2 separate regions of the Homo sapiens genome follow, and region 2 is linked to region 1. Evidence: promoter capture Hi-C in 16 types of primary human blood cells and fetal thymus (Javierre and others, 2016). All regions are on one chromosome and are shown on one strand. The core of a region is centred on a gene start or on the middle of the fragment in contact, and the rest is flanking DNA. Distances in the headings are between cores, read along the strand shown.

Evidence for each region. The method cuts DNA at HindIII sites, captures the fragments that hold promoters and counts their contacts. A CHiCAGO score of 5 or more calls a contact.
Region 2: a contact is called between the fragment with the promoter of CYS1 here and the fragment with the promoter of NOL10 in region 1, in 8 of 17 cell types (fetal thymus, naive B cells, activated CD4 T cells and 5 more). The highest score is 14.8, in fetal thymus.

What each region holds. Positions count from the first base shown.
Region 1 is chr2:10,685,593-10,693,117 of GRCh38, reverse strand. It overlaps NOL10 (nucleolar protein 10), which reads left to right and starts at 3,143. Exons shown (of 21, transcript NM_024894.4): 1 at 3,143-3,322. The coding sequence starts at 3,257. It also overlaps the pseudogene RN7SL832P. RefSeq lists enhancers at 3,297-3,576, 3,637-3,696. The HindIII fragment of the contact is 7,879 bases long and covers 1-7,013 here.
Region 2 is chr2:10,078,722-10,086,246 of GRCh38, reverse strand. CYS1 (cystin 1) reads left to right here and starts at 5,836. Exons shown (of 3, transcript NM_001037160.3): 1 at 5,836-6,341. The coding sequence starts at 6,024. RefSeq lists an enhancer at 3,218-3,277 and silencers at 5,522-5,761, 5,932-5,991, 6,052-6,291, 6,362-6,701. The HindIII fragment of the contact is 11,698 bases long and covers 2,872-7,525 here.

The DNA of each region.
Region 1 (7,525 bases), core at 1,894-4,393:
CTCAAGTGATCTGCCCGCCTCAGCCTCCCAAAGTGCTGGGATTAGAGGTATGAGCTACTGCGCCTGGTCATGATTAGTTTTTTTTTGTTTGTTTGTTTTTGTTTTTGAGACGGAGTCTCGGTCTATTGCCCAGGCTGGAGTGCAGTGGCGCCATCTCTGCTCACCACAACCTCTGCCTCCCGGGTTCAAGCAATTCTCCTGCCTCAGCCTCCTGAGTAGCTGGGACTACAGGTGCGTGCCACCATGCCCGGCTAATTTTTGCATTTTTAGTAGAGACAGGGGTTTCACTATGTTCACCAGGCTGGTCTTGAACTCCCGACCTCGTGATCTGCCTGCCTTGGCCTCCCAAAGTGCTGGGATTACAGGCGTGAGCCACCGTGCTCAGCCCATGATTAGGTCTTAAGGGCAGAGCTCTCATGAATGGGATTGGTGCCCTTACAAAATACAGGTTGAGTATCCCTAATCTGAAAATCCAAAATCTAAAATGCTCCAAAATCTGAAACTTTCTGAATGTCAATGTGATGCTCAAAAGGAAATGCTCACTGGAGCATTTCGGACTTGAAATGTTTGGATTAGGGATGCTTAACTGGTAGACCCATCTCTATAAAAACAAAACAGCCAGCTCTGGTGGTGTGCCTGTACTCCCAGCTACTCAGGAGGATAAGGTGGAAGGACAGCTTGAGCTCGAGTTTGAGGCTGCAGTGGGTCATGATCATGCCACTGTATTCCAACCTGGACAACAAAGTGAGATGCCCCCATGGAAAAAACCCACAACGCCAACAGAAAGTAGATTAGTGGTTGTCTAGGGCTTGGGTGGGGGATGGGGCATGGAGTGAATGCTAATTGAGGCTGGGGTTTCTTTTTGTTCTAAAAATGATTGTGGTGATGGTTGCAGAACTCTGAATACACTAGAAGTCATTACATTGTACATTCAATGGGGACATTTTACAGTATGTTAATTATATCTCAATAAAACTGTTAAAAAGGAAATGTTAATGGAATTTGGATACATTTCCACTTATTTGGTATATGGCTTTATTTTCAGTTTTATTTTACAAACACTTACATGGTCTTACTATGTGCCAAGTACTGGGTTCCAAACGTTTTATAAATATGAATGTATTTCATCCTCATAACTCTGTGAAGTGGATACTACTGTTATCTCCATTTTACACAGGTACAGAGAGGTTAGGTAACTTACCTAAGGTCTTTCAGTTAAAAATGGCAGTCGGGATTTGAATCTTGCCAGTCTGGCTTCAGAGTCTGTGATCTTTATTTATTTTTCAAGAGATAGGGTCTTGCTGTGTTGCCCAAGCTGGAGTACAGTGTTAGTCACAGGCATGATCCCATTACTGGTGAGCATGGGAGTTTTGACTTGCTCCATTTCTGACCTGAGCCGCTTCACACCTCCTTAGGTAACATGGTGGTCCCTGGCTCTTGTGGGGTCACCATATTGATGCCAAACTGAGGACACCCAACGCTCGTTGCGTGCTACAGCCAAGAACTCCTGGGCTCAAGTGATTCTCCTGCTTCGGCTTCACTAGTAGCTAGGACAATAGGCCTGCACCACCAAGCCAAGCCAGAGTCTGTGATCTAACCATTCTATTATGCCACCTTTCCCAAAGATGTTTACAGTTTTTCTTAACTGTAACCAGTGTAGAAAATTAAAAATTTGTGGAGGATCTTAAATTTGAGGACAGAGTTAAGGAATATATCCCTACGTACATGGCTAAATGTAAATATGTAGCAATGCCTAATAGAGGCCAGGCACTGTTCTGGTACTCTGGGTAGGGGTGGATGGGGTGGATAGGGAATATAAGGACAAATGATATAGGGTCCACGAAGAACTCTCAACCTAATTCTGATGCAATGTGGTGTTGGTATTTGAGAGTTTCCAAAATGTTGTGGGTAGGAGAGCAAAACAATAATATTTGGGTTTTAGAAAGTAAGGCATAAAATAATTTGTTCATTAAATCAAAGGAAGTAAGAAGATCACTTGGGAAAGTTATAATCCAAAAATAGTTAAGTATTTGAGTTTCAGCAGGAGGAATGAAAACAGATTACTTTAAGGAAATATTTCATAATTAGAAATATCCAGGTTTAGATACTGAAAGTGAGGGCCAGAGATAGGAATGGGTTGAAGATGACGCCACAGTCTTCTTTTTTTTTTTTTTTTTTTTTTGAGACGGAGTCTCACTCTGTTGCCCAGGCTGGACTGCAGTGGCACGATCTCAGCTGACGGCAACCTCTGCCTCCCGGGTTCAGGCGATTCCCCCACCTCAGCCTTCAGAGTAGCTGAGATTACAGGCGCGCGCCACCAGGCCCGACTGATTTTTGTATTTTTAGTAGAGACGGGGTTTCACCATCTTGGCTAGGCTGGTCTTGAACTCCTGACCTCAGGTGATCCGCCCGCCTCGGCCTCCCAAAGTGTTAGGATTACAGGCGTGAGCCACCGCACCCGGCCTACAGTACTTCTAACGTAACATCGCAGAAACACTGGAGGAGAGAAGAGAATACACTTCCACTCGGAATTCGCACCCTGGTCGCCTTCATTCGCTGGGTTCACTCGCTGAACTGCCTCGCCCCCGCCCGGGAGGATGACATCTCGGCCTGGGCAGAGACTCGAAAGCCTCCTCCTGCCGCTCGGGATGCTAACAGCAGGGAGAGCTGTGTCTAGTTTTTTTTTTTTTTTTTTTTTTTTTGAGAGGGAATCTCGCTCTGTCCCCCAGGCTGGAGTGCAGCGGCGCGATCTCAGCTCACTGCAACCTCCGCCTCCCAGGTTCAAGCAATTCTCCTGCCTCAACCTCCCGTGTAGCTGGGACTACAGATGCCGGCCACCACGCAAGGCTAATTTTTTTGTATTTTTAGTAGAGACGGGGTTTCACCATATTGGTCAGGCTGGTCTCGAACTCCCGACCTCAGGTGATCCGCCCGCCTCAGCCTCCCAAAGTGCTGGGATTACAGGCGTGAGCCACCGCGCCCGGCTTGTGTCTAGTCTTGCCCGTAGCAGCGTCGCCGACAGCCACGCCGGGTTGTCAGAGCCTCACTAGTTTTTCTCCCGGCCGCCGCTCTTCCCGGATTCAGCCACCTTCCCTCTTCCGGGAACTTGCCCGCGTGTTCCGGCTCCAGGAAGTGCGTCATCAGTCGGCGCCAGCGGCCGCACGCCGCGGAGCAGGGGCTCGGAGGTCCCGGGATTACGGTGCTCGAGCACGCTGGTGGGAAAGGACCCGGGACTTGAACAGTGTTGTGCGGCGCCATGCAGGTCTCCAGCCTCAATGAGGTGAAGATTTACAGCCTCAGCTGCGGCAAGTCCCTTCCTGAGGTGAGTCACTTCCCGGCCCCCTCACTCTCGAGCTCTTGGGGGTCGTCCTCCTCGTGGGGCAGCCGCCCCTCTCCTCGGCCCTAGCCTCTGTTTTAGCTGGACGCTGGTCACCCCCCGACTCGGGGAGGCCCAGAGGCGGCTGACAATTTCCGGGGGAGGTGTCGGCATTGGGAGACAAGGACACTGCCGTCACCGCGCCAGAAACTGGACCAAGGGATAATCAGGGTCAGTGAGCTTTGCTGGAACTTTTGTAAAGTTCTCTGTTCCAGAGAACGCAACCATTTGGGCCTCTTTGGGTGTTCACAGTCCCTGCCGTACATCGAGGAGGAAAACGTGGCAGATTCGTTGACACATCTCTCCCCCATATGGCCATCAGCTGTTTGTGGAGTCCCTATCATTTGCCAGGTCTTAGGGATACAACAGTGAACAAGGGAGATACAGACTTCGCATCTGCAGAATTTATGGTGTAGAGGACAGTATTTTCGAGACTTGTTGAACTTAACCTGATTCCTAGTCTTAAAGTTGGAGAGGGCTTGGACAAGTCGGTAATTCTCTTCCAATCTTCTCGTGTTTAGTAATGCAGCTGAGATTTAATAATGCGTTTAATATGCAGCTGAGATCCAGCAAGGGGAAGGGTGACTTGTCCAGCATGACACACTTAGGCTCTGAAACTTGTCTTTTGTTTCTTATACGTGATGATCCAGCCTCTGTCCAAGCACTACCACTGAGCACTACCTTTTGTGGAAGCTCATTTCCATTTTGAGACTCTGCACTTGTTAGAAAGTGGTTTTCAAATATGTCACCTTATAGCATGCCACTGTTGGCCTGAGTCCTGCCCTTGGAAAACAGAATAAATATAGCTCTCCTTCCATGCGTCTGCTTCTACAAAAATTTGGAGCCAGTGCTTAGGTTTTTCCTTTCTTCCTAAAATTCTGGTTTGAATAATTCCCTGTCTTCCAGTTGTTCTTCACACCCCATGAGCTTTCTCATTTTGTTCATTCATTCTCCACATGTATTGAGAAGTTACTGTGTGCAAGCAACTCTGTTTTAAGTATTGGGATCTATAGTGGACATTTCAGATAAGGTTCCCTGTTGGGGAAAAGGGAAATAAACAAGTGAGCAAATAAGGCAATTTAAGGTAGTCAAAAAGTACTTTTCGTGGTGAATGATTAGAAGAGAGCTGTTTTGGATAAAATATTGAGAGAAAGTGTTTTGGATAAAACCTTCGGGGAAGGCCTCTCTACAAGAGGTGACATATGAGCAGAAACTTGGATGATGAAGAGGAGCCAGTCGTGTGAAGATGTGGGGAAGAGTTTTCAGTGCTGAGAACAGAAAGTGCAAAAGCCCCACATGGGAATGCACTGGACATGTAGGAGGACGGAAGAGGCACAGGTGTGATTGCACTATGCTGAGTGAGGGGGCGAGAGCAGGGTGGATGAGGCTGGAGAGGTAGGCCTGGTAGGAAAGGTAGGAAGTTCAAGTTTTATTCTTAGTGCTGCTGGAAGTCACTGTTGTGTGGGCTGCTGTGCGACAAATGTCTAGCTGGGGAGGGTTCAAGTCGGGATGAATTAGGTAGTCCAGGTGAGCGACTTCGGTGGCTTGGGCTTGCCTGGTAACAAAGAAGATGCTAAAACACAGTGAGATTCAGGACATACTTTGTAGATAGGGTAATGGAACTTGCTAATGGATTGGACTGTTGGTAGAGGGAAGTTGAGGTGACAAAAAGGAAGGAATCAGAGAACTCTTCAGTTTTGAGTCTGAACAAGTGGGTGCACGGTGGTGCTGCTAACTGACATGGAGAAGAATCAAGAAGGAACACATTGAAAGGTGGAGAGGAGGAACGTAGTGAGCAAAAAGAATCAAGATTTTTTTTTGAGGTCGCGTGCAATGGCCTGATGTTGGCTCACTGCAACCTCTCGGGTTCAAGCGATTCTCCTGCCTCAGCCTCCCCAGTAGCTGGGACTACAGGCACGTGCCACCACACCAGCTAATTTTTGTATTTTTAGTAGAGACGGAGTTTCACTATGTTGGCCGGTATGGTCTCGATCTGATCTTGTGATCCACCCACCTCGGCCTCCCAAAGTGCTGGGATTACAGGCATGAGCCACTGCACCCGGCCCAAGGTTTTTATTTTCAATAGTGAACATTTGAAGTTCTAATACATACCAAATGGAGATGTTGAGTAGTTAGCAGTTGCATGGATACTAGGATGGAGATTGCAGGTGAATTTACTGTCGTTATTTGGGACTAGGTGAGATCAAATTGTGAGAGAAAGAACAGAGAAGATAACTAGGCTGAGGACCTGAGGCAGTCTTAGCATTTGTCATCCAAGAAGAGGAGGGGAACCCAGCAAAGAAGAAAGAGTAGTGGGCACTGATGGAAGGGGAGACTGGGAAATGTGTAGTTTTGTAGAAGTAAGTGTTTCAAGGAGGAGGTGGTGGTCACCTGTGTCAGCTGCTACTGAGAGCTTCAGTAAGATGAAGGCAGAAAAATGACCATCGACTTTGGCATGATGCAGAGCGCCCTTGACCTTGGCAAGGAGCTCCAGTGGAGTGGTGGGGAGGGTAGCTTGAGCTGAGTGGATTTGGAAACCCCTGCTTGTCCTGTTTAATATTTTCTGGTTATTTCTTTGAGGTGTGGTGCCTAAACTACACGTGGAACCCCAGTTGTTGTCTGATCTGTGCAAATATTGCTTCTCTCCTTCTGGGCTTTACCTTTTTATTAATGTAGAGAAGCCTCTACGTTTACTCCCCTGGTGATCCTAGGCAGTCTCCTGGCTTTAAGCACATCTGCATATCGATAACTATCACATTGATGTTTCTAGCCCTTACCTCTACTCTGAACTGGACTTGTGTATCCAACTGTTTCTTGACATCCCCGCTTGGATGTCTGATAGGCATCTCAAACTTAACTTGTCCAAAGTAGAACACCAGCTTTCCCCCCACATTTCCCCCTCCTGCAACCTAGTGGTCTTCCCTCCCTCAGCCAGTGGCAACTCCATCCCGCAAGCTGTTGATGCCAAAAACACTGGAGGCTTTTTGTTGTTGTTTCTTTGCTCTCATACAATCCACTAGAAAATGCTGTTGCTTCTATCTTCAGTATAGATCCAGAATCCAGTCACCTCCATTACTGTCACTGATTCAAGACACTGTCACCCCTGACTATGCAATTGCAGTTATTGCAGTTGACTTCTAAGCAGTTTCTCAGTTTCCACCCTCTACCCCTTTATTCCACAGTCTGTTATCAGTAAGCTGCCAGGGTGATCCTCTACTCAGAACTGTCCAGTGGCTCCTGCTCTCTTGGGGGTGAAAAGCAGAGTCCTTTGAGTGACTTTTAAGGTCCTACTTGATGTTGTGCCTTCCTGCCCTCCTCTCTGAGCTCAGCGGTCACTGTTCTCCACCTTACACTGGCCTCACAAGTCTCACTGCTCGAGACCAGGCACACTCCTGCCGTAGGACCTTGGCACAGGTCCTGCCTGCCTGCTTTTTTCCCAGATGTTCTCCAGGCTTTGCCTCCTCATGCCTTTCAGGTCGTTGCTCAAGAGGACCTTAACCTTATTCAAAATTATAATTCTCCACCAACACTTCGTCTCCTTTTCTTGCTTTATTTTTTCCATGGCATACATAACCATCTGACATTCTAATTGTTTTACTTCCTTATTTGTTGGTGTTCCCTCACTTGAAAGAAAGCTTCATGAAAGGAGGGGTTTTTAGATTTTTAAATTTTTTTTTTTTTTGAAACAGGTTTACTCTGTTGCCCAGGCTGGAGTGCAGTGGCACAATCATGGCTCACCTCAGCCTTGACTTCTCTGGGCTCAATGATTCTTGCACCTCAGCCTACTGAGTAGCTGGGACTACAGGTGTGTACCAACATGCCCAGCTGCTTTTTTTTTTTTGTAGAGACAGTGATCCCACTTTATTGCCAGGCTGGTCTCGAACTCCTGGGCTCAAGTGATCCCCTTGCCTCAGTGCTGGGATTATAGATATGAACCACTGCACTTGGCCAAGAGGGCTTTTTTTTCCCTCCTGTTTTATTTACTACTGCTATACCTAATTACTGGCATTTAGTAGTACTAAATAAATATTTGTTTAATGTATTGATGAATAAAGTTAATTTTCATTTTCAGCTCCATCACACTTTTGACTTGGGGCTACGATTTTTATTCACACAATTTGACCTACAGTCTCCCATTCTGGAGTTAAT
Region 2 (7,525 bases), core at 4,587-7,086, 610 kb after region 1:
CATATCAGTCACCCCACCTACATGGTGGCCCAGGGTAACGGTAATAGTTGCATATATTCAGAGCTCGCTGGTCTATTCTGCTAGGTTTGTCATTTATTTAGGTACAGATAGCATCATGAAAGAACCATGGGGTTTGCAGAGAGAGTGGCTTGAGTCCCAGCTCTGGCTGTCTCTGGCTTCAAGACCTTAGGCCAGCTCCCCACTCTTCGGAGCCTCAGTTTTGCCATCTGTAAAATAGAGGCAGAAAATATCTATCTTACAAGGTTACCGTGAGGCTCATTTAACGAGCCACAGTCGGTAAATGGTCAGGGCAGGGCCTCTCGAAGTGTCAGCTGTCCCCGTTGGGTGGAGGTTGACTGCGCGGTGAAGGAAAGTTGCACTCCAGAGGACAGGGATCGTGCAGCCAGGGGGTCTTGTACAAATGTGCACAGGCATTAATCAGTAATCGCCATGAGCAGGCTGGGACTTCAACTCCACTTACCAAGTTAAACAGCTACAAATTAAAGAGCTAAGAGACGCTTTTAATATTTAACCTGGGCCTTGACTACAGCACTCTATTCCTTTGAGCTGATTAATTGACTGGTTGGTTCTCAGCTCTCTAATGAGAAGAAGGAACTTAAGCATCTTCCCAGGTGTCTGGGACCATGGGATGTTCGTGTGCAGAGGTGACCACCCCCACCAGGCAGCTTCCACATTAGAGAAGTTGATATTCACAGTGGGGGGTTTGAGCTTAAAGTTGGACATTTTATGTTTGTTGCACACTCTTTTTAGCCAACAGTATTTAAAGGTTAACCTCTGTAATAAATATTACACGTTAATGGTCAAATTTACACAGACTCAATTCCCTTTCCCAGCACTGCCCTCCCTCTCCCCTCAAACCTTGTCCTCAGGATGATAAATGACCCCACCAAAGCCTAGGGTCCAAGTATGTTTTGAGTGGCCTCCAAATCTCACACTCAAAACTGTGGGTTCATGGACAGGGGAGTCAGCTCACAGATCACTTTGTGTAGCAGATTTGCAAGGAGAAGGAAGCTTACGTTCACTGAGGCCAGCGGCTGTGGACACTGTACTGGATCTTTCTCAGCTGCTGTGTGCATTGCCCCTGGAGACAGGACAGTCCCACACAAACATCGTCTTACTCAGTGGGCCAGGGATGGGCACCTGAACCTCAAGTAGCTCCAGTTCAAGGCGGCCAGCTTCCTGCCTGCTCAGCTAATCGAAGCCTGTCCACCCCACCCCACCCCACAAACCCACCACCCCCCGCCCCCCGGTCTAAATTCCTAGCCGGAGTAAAAATCCAATGGGAAAAGAGTCTTATACACATGGCAGCGGAGTGAAACCACATCAGCTACCTGGTCATTTTTTTTTCTTAAATATAAGCAGGAGTCAGTGGGGGATGATGCCCTTGTCCCATGTAAAGATCTTAATCGCTCCTTAGGTCCGATGCCCACTTCTCACTCCCATCTCCTTTTATACCCGCTGACTGTGTCCCGGAGTCTCATCTGTCAGTCCATTGACCCCGTTTCCTCTCCAGCGTCTGTCATCATGGCATAGACTGCAATTGCTCAGCCTGTGTCATCTGGCAGCTCTCTACTGTCAGTTTTCCATCTTTCAGAAATGCGTTGAAACCTCTCCTTTGTGATTTCCCTCCTTCTTACAACTCCTCCTCTATCCCTTTTTCTTTTATCTTAATTCCAGCAAAGTCGCAAGTACCAAGAGAAGGCAACTCTGCACCCGGTCTGCTGTTTTGAGCCAGAAGCCATGAGATGCCTCTAAACGAGAACTGCTCTAGTCATGGAAAGTATGCATCGTAAATTCCAGTGCTAAACCTTTTGTTTAGATGGGGTACAAGTCATTGTCATTTTACTGTCAGAATTTTTTACAGTGTTATAGAACGCACCAAATCAGCCATGACCTGGACCTGCCAACCCTAAGGACCTCATGTATCTTATTTCTGAGTAAATATTGAAAAAAGTTCTGTAACTCATTAATTGTCCTTAATGAATAATGGTGATTCACCCTTATATTTTGTTTTCCCCTCTTGATGCCGAAACCATGAAACCAAATACAAAAGCTTGGACACTTTGGTAAAAGACAATAGCAATTATGTGGGCTGCTGCTGTCCAAACATATCAGCATTCGTTAATAGCACTGTGGCTCTCTCAAGTTACCGATTAAGCATTAAAAATAGAAACATGGCTTGCTTATGTTTCAAATGCCGTCTCATTTATCACCCAAATGCAAATATTATCTGTCTGCATATTCATAAGAACCAGCACCTGCACAACACATCTTTCTTACGTAACGGCTTGGGAGTGCCATGATTGGTGGGAAACTGCAGGATATCTGAGCAGGGAGAGTAGATCTGCGAGTCCTGAAGCAGGGGCCCTGGAGTGGGGTTTTGAAAGGTGGGTTGGTTTGGCAGGCTATTGTAATGACTGGTCCATGAGTCGTGGTGGGAGGAACTGGCTTCATCTGCAGTAGATGCCTGGCTACTCCTGAAACCAAGGAAAACATCGTTCGGGCGCCCGAGTCCTTCCGAAAAGTATCACCAACTGTAGTCCTCTTCCAGGGTTTAATTTGTTTAAGGAAAGGAAGTTCTATTTTCCCAGAGTTAAGCAGAGAGTTCCCAAACTGGGCTTCACCTTCCACCCACCATCACCAGCACCCACGAGCACTATCACCGCATAAAAGAATCCTTCAGCTGCAGGTGTGACTGCCAGATATTTTCTTAAGAAGGATTACACCCCATTTCAGTTCTCCAATATTCCTGAGACGTTGCTAACTCTTTCGGACAAAAATTCTAGAGACGATCTTAGGGACATTAGTCATGCGGAAAGCTTTTAGGTTGTTTGCTTATTATGGGAAGCTTCTAATAAAATCAATCTGAGTTTTCAGCATATTTGATGGAAGCCAGGTCTACAAATGTAGCAGATTTTAAAATGTTCTCTCAAAGTGGAAAGAATGCTGGCTCTGGCATTCCTCCCGCTGAAGCGGAGCTAATGACAAGTTTTGGGAAACAGTGTTGGAATCAAGAGTGGCCAGAAAAATTGGTTGCCCTGGGAGGTGAACACAGGGAGCTGTGGATGTATTTAAACATGAGTCACATGACTAGCTTCTATTTAGGCAGAAGCAAAACATGTTTTCCTTTAAATCATTAAACTGAGTGAACTCAAGAAAAATCTCGTTTGCCTCTAAGTGTTGTTGTTCTTTGGGGTTTAAAGAGTTTCAAGATGAGATTTGTTTTCTTAAAAACTTATATCAATAGCTTCCAAACGAGACACATCTGTAGACTTAGCGCACCCAAATGACATCTGTGTTTGGCCCCACATCCTACACCTGGATGGTTAAGATGGCACATCAAAAAAAAGGGGGGGAGAGGCCAGGCACGGTAGCTTACGCCTGTAATCCCAGCACTTAGGGAGGCCAAGGCAGGTGGATTACCTGAGGTCAGGAGTTCAAAACCAGCCTGGCGAACATGGTGAAACCCTGTCTCTACTAAAAATACAAAAATTAGCCGGATGTGGTGGTGCGTGCCTGTAATCCCAGCTGCTCAGGAGCCTGAAGCAGAAGAATCACTTGAACCCGGGAGGCGGAGGTTGCAGTGAGCAGAGATCCGGCCACTGCACTACAGCCTGTGCAACAGAGCGAGACTCCGTCTCAAAAAAAAGGCAGGGGGGATCATAAATACTTCCCTTTAAAAAATTTTTTTTCTTTTCTTTTTGCTTTTTCTTTATTGTTTGTTGTTGTTGTTGTTTGTTTTGTTTTTTTTTTTTTTTGAGACGGAGTCTCTTTGGTTGCCCAGGCTGGAGTACAGTGGTGCGATCTCGGCTCACTGCAACCTCCGCCTAACGGGTTCAAGTGACTCCTGCCTCAGGCTCCCGAGCAGCTAGGACTACAGGTGCCCTTCACCATGCCCGGCTAATTTTTGTATTTGTAGTAGAGACAGGGTTTCATCCTATTGGCCAGGCTGGTCTCGAACTCCTGACCTGAAGTGATCCGCTCGCATCAGCCTCCTAAAGTGCTGGGATTACAGCCTCATTTTTTTTCTCTTCTTTTTCTTTTCCCTCTCTGTCTCACCTCTCTTCTCTCTCTCTTTTCTTTTCTTTCTTTCTTTTTTTTTTTTTGAGACAGAGTCCAGCTCTGTTGCCCAGGCTGGAGTGCAGTGGCGTGATCTCGGCTCACTGCAACCTCCACCTCCTGGGTTCAAGTGAGCATGCCCAGCTAATTTTTGTATTTTTAGTAGAGACAGTTTCACCATGTTGGCCAGGCTGGTCTCAAACTCCTCACCTAAAGTGATCTGCTCGCCTCAACCTCTGAAAGTGTTGGGATTACAGGCATGAGCCACCACGTCCAGCTAGATTATAAATACTTTCTTGTTCTTTTTTTTTTTTTTTTTTTTGAGACGAGCCTCACTCTGTCGCCCAGGCTGGAGTGCAGTGGCGCGATCTCGGCTCACTGCAACCTCCACCTCCCGGGTTCACGCCATTCTCCTGCCTCAGTCTCCTGAGTAGCTGGGACTACAGGCGCCCGCCACCACGCCCGGCTAATTTTTTGTATTTTTAGTAGAGACGGTGTTTCACCGTGTTAGCCAGGATGGTCTCGGTCTCTTGACCTCGTGATCCACCTGCCTCGGCTTCCCAAAGTGCTGGGATTACGGGCGTGAGCCACCGCGCCCGGCCTCTTGTTCTCTCTTAATAATAAAAATAAATGGATGTGAATCTGAGTCCCATTTTTATTCCATTTTCTTAGGCATATGTTTTTTAATGTCTACTCCTGAAGTGATAAAATAGTAGAATTTCAAGTCTGTGGTTGGGAAAGTTTAGCCGAAATTCCATTTTCACAATTATTCTGGAATCCAATCAATCAGGATAAAAGTTAATGTCAAGTCAAGATAGGTGAGTTAAACCCAGGACTTTTGAATTGCCCTGTCTTGGAAAGGCTGGAATTTAAAGTTGCAGGAGGTGGGCAAGGGAAGGAAGTAATCACATTTAAGTAAAACACAGAACCAACCAACAGGAAGGCTCGCTGGGTTTGAATTCGGCAGCTTTGGAGTGTTTTCTAGTCTGGGTTGTGGTTAGTTCACTTAAAAAGAAAAGCGGTTAAGGGAAAAAAAAAAAAAATCCGAGACCAAAAGCTAGACTTATGACCACCACCTAGGTATTTCCTTTTGCTTCTTTCCTGTGGCGGGGGGAGGGCGAGGTGGGGGTTGCTTTGCCTTTCTCCTTCATTTTCAAAGTTTTTCTTTCCCAAAAGTAGTGACTATTTGGAGGTTTTGATGAGGCTCAACCTTCACACATCCAGTCTCCGCTGGGGCAACAGAGGGAAGGAGAAGGCCGGAGGGGGCTGTTGGTGCCCGGAGGATCGCCCCTTCCCTCCCGGGGCGTCTCAGGCCTGGCGGACACTGAAAGGTCGGGGCGCACTGACGGCCGGACCTCGCGAACGCAGCGCGCGCAGCCCTCAGGGTCTTTCCCCCGCCCACCCCGCGCATCGCTAGGGGGCTCAGGCTTTGGGAAGTCCCCCCAAGCTCCCGCGGCCTCCCACGGGCCCGGCGAGCGTCGTCTGGGGAGCGTTTCCATAAATGAACAAACTCAGCCGGGCCCCCCGCAGGGTTCAGCAATTCCAGAAGGCCGGGACAGGGCTGACCCGACGGCGGGGAGCGAGGGGACCCGTGGGCGGGAGTGGGGGGACTGTAGGGGGAGACCCGGGAGGGGAGGCCGCGCCCGCACCCGGTGCTCCTCGCCGGGGTCTCGGGCCCGCCCCTCCCTAGGGCCGGTGTGCGCCCCCTCGGGACGCCTATGCAGCCCTGCCTCGCCCGCCCCTCCCCAGGCTCCGGCTCGCACCCCCGTCCTCCGGCCGCGACCCCCGCCCGGGAACCCTAGCCCCTGGCCGCGGTCGCTTCCCGGACCTCGCCCCGCGCCTCCCCCTGCAGCCCGCCCCGGCCGCACCCCCTAGCGTCCCCGCCCCCGGCCGCGCCCCCTCATGGGGGCCCCCTCGGCGGTCCGGGAGGCGGCGGGCGCGCCATGGGCAGCGGCAGCAGCCGGAGCAGCCGGACTCTGAGGCGGCGGCGCAGCCCCGAGAGCCTCCCCGCGGGGCCCGGAGCGGCAGCCCTGGAGGGCGGGACCCGCCGGCGGGTGCCGGTGGCGGCGGCCGAGGTCCCGGGGGCAGCCGCGGAGGAGGCGCCCGGCCGCGACCCCAGCCCCGTGGCGCCCCCCGACGGCAGGGACGAGACGCTGCGCCTGCTGGACGAGCTGCTGGCCGAGTCGGCGGCCTGGGGCCCCCCGGAGCCCGCCCCGCGCCGCCCAGCCCGGCTCCGACCCACCGCGGTCGCGGGGAGCGCGGTGAGTGTGGGAGCCGCAGGGCCTCGGGGGACGGCGGGGACCCCACTCACCGGCCGCGCGTCCCCGCCCCAGCCCTGGGCGCCGGTCGCGCTGCGCCCCCTTCCAGCCTCCGACTTGCGTGCTCCCCGCTGCCCCGGCCTCCCCGCCCCTGGGCCCCCAGGTTTCCTCCCTCTCTGCCCCGTCTCCGGGTCTGTGTCCAGGCGTGGGGGCGATCGCGCTGGGAGCGGCCGAGGAAGGACACCCCTAGGCGGAGCGCGCCGGGCTCCCGGCTCCCCTCGGGCCCGCGGCCCCGCCTGGCCTTCCCGGGCCGCCCTGGAGCGGGGCGCCGGCGGTGGTGGCACGGCAGCCAGACGGTGGCTCAGAAGCGCCCTGCCGCGCCCACCGGTCCAGATCCTTGCCTTGCTGGGCAGGCAATTCTCATGTTACTGATATTTTTAGGATGCTGCGGAATCTCTTTTGCGCTTCCTATTCTCTCTCCCTGAATACTCGTAATAACAGTCCTGCTGTTCTAAAAAAACAATAAAACAAGCACTCTGGTTTGGCAACCGTCTTCGCTCCAGCAGAGCTGAATGAACAAGATCTTTAACATCCGCTCCCGGGCTCGGGGAGGATGCCAAGGGCCTCGTCCTCCTCCCTGAGGCCCGGGAGGCTTTGCTTAGCAGCCGCTGGGAGCCGAGGAAGATGCCTTCCTGGGTGGCTACCGCACCAAGGAATCCTGAAAAGGCCCCAGGGAGGGTGGGGGAGAGGGACAGCCCCAGGCGACAGTGCACAGAGCTCTCTCCCTCTGGCCCTGGTTCCCTGCTCCTCTCCCTTACGGTCTTTAAAGAGGAAAAGCGAGCTGCAGTGAGTAGGGCTGAATTATATAACAAGATTCCTTTAATACCACATCAGCCTGCAGTTATATAACACTGCCTGGACAAATAGCTGAGAAATTTGGGAGGAATTCACACATAGCAAGGAGGCAGTTAATTTTAGTGTTCATTTTCAAGTGCTTTGGAAACTCGGAGGTGAAAATGAGAGGCAAATAGCAAGAGTGAATGTTGTGCCCTCTGATTTGCTGATATTATTCATCATGGTGACTGCTCGCTCTTTAAGTCATTTTCCAGCTATCCTTTGAGCACCGGTCCCGCTGTGGGTGCTAGGGATGAGGCCACACAGCATAGCCCTTGCCTTAAAGAAGTCTG